Regions from separate parts of the Homo sapiens genome. Here region 1 is linked to region 2. Evidence: promoter capture Hi-C in human tissues and cell types (Jung and others, 2019). All regions are on one chromosome and are shown on one strand. The core of a region is centred on a gene start or on the middle of the fragment in contact, and the rest is flanking DNA. Distances in the headings are between cores, read along the strand shown. Region 1 has its middle 24 kb from the start of SYCE1L. Region 2 holds the start of CFDP1 (craniofacial development protein 1).

What was found. Contacts are between HindIII fragments. The study calls those that stand out against the background at their distance.
Region 1: a contact is called between a fragment that was not itself captured here and the fragment with the promoter of CFDP1 in region 2, in 1 of the 25 tissues and cell types used here (hippocampus).

Annotation. Positions count from the first base shown.
Region 1 is chr16:77,222,491-77,225,196 of GRCh38, forward strand. No RefSeq gene overlaps it. Among named protein-coding and RNA genes, the nearest start is that of SYCE1L, 24 kb to the left of the region's middle. The HindIII fragment of the contact is 3,579 bases long and covers 1-2,706 here.
Region 2 is chr16:75,432,031-75,434,771 of GRCh38, forward strand. CFDP1 (craniofacial development protein 1) reads right to left here and starts at 1,473. Exons shown (of 7, transcript NM_006324.3): 1 at 1,259-1,473. The coding sequence starts at 1,322. RefSeq lists a silencer at 909-1,148 and enhancers at 1,459-1,968, 1,512-2,079. The HindIII fragment of the contact is 15,991 bases long and covers 1-2,741 here.

The sequences.
Region 1 (2,706 bases), core at 183-2,682, 1.8 Mb after region 2:
TGAGAACCAGGAGCTCTGATGTCTGAGGGCAAGAAAAGATGGATGTCCCAGCTCAAAAAGACAGTCAATTTACCTTTCTTCTGGCTTTTTGTCTTATTTAGATGGGCCCTCAATAGATGAGGTGATGCTCCGCAACACCGGTGTGGGTGAGTCTTCTTCCCTTAGTGGACTGATTCAAATGCTACTCTCTTCCAGAAACAGCCTCACAGACACAACCAGAAGTAATATTTTTCTATCTCTCTGGCTGTCTCCTATCCCAGTCAAGTTGACACATTAAAATTAACAATCACACCTGCAATTATATTCCCTCTGCTTTAAATAAATTCTATCTTTTTATCTGATTAGACCCTGACTGACAATCTTGCTACCAGGAGAAGTGCCAGGAAACACATCTTCCTATGGGATTCTGGTTGGGGTTGGCCTGCTTGTGCATGAACACAATCATGATCTTATTGCAGGTGGAAAATGGAATACTGATTCTAGCAGATAGGGTCAGCGCCTACCTGTACTCACTTGTCTTACACCTCATTGCACGCCAGGCCGGCTTCCATCTGCCAGGACATAAATTCCTTTCCATGACATTTTTCCATGACATGGATGCTGAAGTATGCCTGGCCTATTTGTCTGGTGGGCTAGAAGTGTTGCAGAATGAATTTCTGCCTCCCTAAGCCTCAGAACAGTCTTCATCTATTGACCGATAGGATTGGGTGTATATGCCAGTTAACAATGTATTGCCTCTCAGCTCCAAATTCACCTTTACCACCTGCCTTGTGAAAATGGATCAGGCCCTTGAAACAGTTTCCTTTGCCAGCTGACACGATGTTAAGCTTTGCTCAGTAGAGGGCGCCAGGGAGACGTTTCTGCTTTGGTTCTGGTCTTCCGGCTAGGTAGGTTTCTGCAGGGTGGACGACTTCTCCAGCGCAGGTTCCTGTAGCGCATGGCAGCCAGCAGCGTCCCAAGACACCATCTTTGGTAGTTTTGTAGCAGTGACTCTAGTGAGACACCTCTCCATGAACAACGTTCCCCAACACCTCAGAAGATGGATTTCTGGCAAGGTTTAGAGGGCAGATTTCCAGAAAGTTCTACAAAGGCAGCACTACAGCAACTTCTTTGCCCTTCAGTGAGTCACAGCCATGACCTGTCCAACTAGGACCTGACCTCACCCTGTGGGTAGAGGGTCTCCCTTGGACGCTCCAGCTCAGCCCTGCAGGCAGTAGCTGCTGCGTAGGTCGGCTCTTTCTGTATGCTTCAGAGTTTTCTTTGCTTTTTCCTAGTGAACCCCTCACTGCCCCAATATCCCATTTTAGTTAATAATGATGTATTTTAAACTTTATCTGTTCAAATTATTGCATAGTTTTTCTCCCTTGATAGGACTCTTACTGTGCATAAATTCTCCAGCTCCTTTGGCGTTTGGCTGGAGTAAGTTTGAGGCATGCTTTTATTTATTTATTTATTTATTTATTTATTTATTTATTTATTGAGATGGAGTCTCGCTCTGTCACCCAGGCCGGAGTGCACTTGTGTGATCTCAGCTCACTGCAACCTCCGCCTCCCGAGTTCAAGTGATTCCCCTGCCTCAGCCTCCTGAGTAGCCGGGATTACAGGTGTGTGCCACCATGCCCGGCTAATTTTTGTATTTTTAGTAGAGACAGGGGTCTCACCATGTTGGCCAGGCTGGTCTCGAGCTCCTGACCTCAAGTGATCCGCCCACCTTGGCCTGCCAAAGTGCTGGGATTACAGGCGTGAGTCATCGTGCTCAGCCAGGCGTGCTTTTTTAATACTGGCTCCAGGGTATCCCCAGTGGCTTGTTAAAAAAATACATCATGGGCTGCTTTTCCTTTCTTGCTGTGGGAATGTAAAAGGACCTGATGAGGATGAAAGACACGACTTGTTGACAGCCCTGGGAGTCTAGAAGGAGGTGGAAGTCAGAAATGTTGCAGTTGTTCAGAACGAATTCCTAGTACTGTAACTAGGCCAGTGCTGGCATGGAAATAGAGATTACCTACACACCCCAAAGGGGGCTTAGGCCTGCATGCACCTGGTGATTGAATGTGAGATCGAGAGGGCTTTCCAGCAATAGAAATATACACCTTCCTATTGCTCCAAGATGCCAAGCAGAAAGTCAACATACATTTGAATAGGTTCTATCAAAAGAACAATTCCTTCTCTGATGTGGATCATGAAGTAGCAATTATTCTATCTCTATTCCCATGCAAGCTAAGCGTATGCATAGAGATGACCATTTCTGGGTTATGTCTATGTCATAAACTTGTTTAATGCAGTTGCTGCCTTGGCATCCGTTGTTAGGCCTGACATAAGTTGTTTGAAGTCCAGTTGTACCCTGTCACCTTTGGTCTAGTTAAAACTTCCTCTCCCCATGTGGCTGTTTGCAATATAGCCCACTTGTTCCTCATCCCACTGAACCCAAACCCAACATATCCCACAGCTGCTGACTGTGATAAAACCCAGTGGCCAACACCAGAGTCGTGTAGGTAAGTTCCCTTTCTCACACGTATTTTCCTTAAACTAGCAAATTCACAACCCCCTGTGGAAAGCCTAAGTGAGAACACTCCTGGAGCCCCTAGACCTTGATAAAGGCGTGCTCCTGCTGGTCATCTCTCATGTCATGCATTTCGTTTTCCCATTTTCCTTCTGTCTCTCCTGACTGGCACACCTGAACCTTAACTAGGACATAAGGAGAATAGG
Region 2 (2,741 bases), core at 223-2,722:
CCTCCTGAGGAGCTGGGACTACAGGCGCGTGCCACCATGCCCAGCTAATTTTTGTGTTTTTAGTACAGACGGGGTTTTACCATGTTGTCCAGGATGGTCTCGATCTCCAGACCTTGTGATCCACCCACCTCAGCCTCCCAAAGTGTTGGGATTACAAGCATGAGCCACCGCGCCAGGAATGGAATGGCTAGTTTTCAACGTGCCTTTTAGAAATACTTCACTAGCCGGGGCGCGGTGGCTCATGCCTGTAATCCCAGCACTTTGGGTGGCTGAGGTGGGAGGATCACTTGAGCCCACGAGTTCGAGACCAGCCTGGGCAACATAGCAAGATGCCATTTCTAAAAAAAAAAAAAAAAAAAAAAATTTAAAAAATTAGCGGGCGTGGCAGCCTGCACCTGCAGTCCCAGCTACTCCAGAGGCTGAGACGGGAGGATCGCTTGAGCCCAGGAGTCTGAGGTTGCAGTGAGCCAAGATCGCATCACTGCACTCCAGCCTAGACAACAGCAAGACCCTGTCTTTAAATAAAACAGAACAGAACAAAGTAAAACAAAGAGAATAGGGACGACTCCTGGGTTGTGTTTTGTTAGTCTGTTTGTTTCTTGTTTGTCTAGTCTTTCAACTGAAGATGTGAATGGGTGAAGATACTTTCAACGAGACGGTTTGTCTGGGGAAGACCAAGAAGGGGGAACAGAAAGATTTCTTCAGTAAGATTCATTCTCACCCCGTTCGGGTTGAGATCCCTAAGGAAAGAAAGTTCTGAGAGGAGAGGATGGGTGGACGTCACAATGAGGCAAAAAGCATCAAAGGGGGAACTTTCTATCAGAACTTTCTAACAACCAGGCGGAGAGCGGACAGCTCTATCTTGGACGGGGTGGTGGCCAGCAGCTCTCTCGGGCCAGGGCTGAAAAAAACCTCCAAGGCTCGGACTGCCGCCCCGACTTCTGAAGCAGCGGTGTCGTTCGGGGCTGACCGACGAGCGTCCCTAGCGACAAGGGGCCGTGTCCATGTGCCGGTTCCCGCGCTGCAAGAGGGGGCGGCGGCCGGAGCTGCCCAACGGGAGGGGAGCACAGAACCGCCACGCGCACACGCCTCGGGCCGGAGCGGCCGAGGATGAGGGGCCTGAGGGAGCGGACGCTCGAGAACAGGAGCCCCCCTGGACCACCTGGGCCACAGGGCAGACGCCCGCGGGGGCAGAGCGCGCCTCACGTGAGGCGTGGGGCGGGGCAATTCGCTTCTCGCCTCAGGCGGAATCGCTCACCCGACGGCACGTAGTCCTCGTCCTCCTCCGACGTAGAGAAGTCTTCGGAGTCGAATTCCTCCATGTTGCTGCCGCTCGACGCTGGTCAAACTCACAAGACCGCAGCAGCCGCCTCCAACGGCAAAGCTCTAGGGAGAGACCATAGAGCCCCGGCGGCGGCGACGGCAGCTAGGGCGGCCCCCGACAGCGCTTTGCACATGCGCAGAGAGTACTACGTGGTTGCCCTACGACACTTCCGGCCGATGCCTCCGGGCTGGCGTCCCTGAAGCCCTCGCTGGGAGCCCGAACCCGCCCGGACGCGGTGCATGCTGGAACTTGTAGTCTTCGGCGCTGCCTCGCCGCCTTAATATAATAAACCTGCTTAAATAAAATTACATATCTATGGAAATACAGGTGACCTTCATTAATCATTAATTCGTAATGCCAAATTCACTTACTTGCTAAAATGTATTTGTAACCCTAAAATCAATCATCACGGTACTGTCTGGGGTTCTTCCCGGGCATGCGCAGAGGGTGAAAATTTGGAGTTGGCGGAGGTAAGGTTCCCAGCTGAAGTTTGAACTGGGAGAAGCGCCGCCTTCTAGTCGCAGCTCCTGTGCTGTAAACAAAGAGTCCTTTCCGCAGTCTGTTTACTGACACTTTTTTTTCTGCTTTTTGTGGGTGGTTTTGCTTTCTAAAATGGCCCCCAAGCGTAGTGCTTAAGCTCTGCCCAGTGTTCCTAAGCGAAAGAAGACCGTGATGTGCCTTACGGAGAAAGTCCGCGTGTTGGATAAGCTCCAATCAGGCATGAGTTACAGTGCTGTTGGCCATGAGCTCAATGTTAACGAGTCGACAATCCGGTACATCAAGAAAAAGGAAAAGGAAATTCACCGATCTGTCCGTGAGGCCGCTCCGGATAGTGCTGAAGTGACCTCCATCGTGCGTGATGAAGCTATGACAAAGATGGAAAAGATGGAAAAGCGGCTAAATTTGTGGATTCATGAGATGTCAATCGATTAAAAAAAACATAGTGGACAGCATTGTGGTGAGGCTGAAAGCCAAAGATATCTGTGGTCACGTTACCCAGAGTCAAAGAAATGCTAAGCCCTTCTCGGCGAGTGCTGGCCGGCTCGCGCGTTTCAAAAGGCGATACGGGGTGAAAAATGTTAAACTTGCAGGTGAGGCGAGCTCTGCAGATCAGGAGGCTGCGGAAGAATTTTAAAAATACTTGCTAAGTGTTATACAGGAAAAGGGTTATGTGAAAGAGCAGGTTTTCAATGCGGATGAGACTGGCTTATTTTACAAGGATGTTGGCAAACGAACCTATATAATGCAAACGGCCTCCAAAGCCCCTGGCTTTAAATCATGCCAGGATCATGCACCCTTGTTATTGTGCGCCAATGCCAAGAGCGACTAAAGTGCAAACTCCTAATGGTGTAAAGAACCCAAAATCCACAAGCACTTAACGGGAAATACGTGAACCATCTGCCAGTCTATTGGAGGT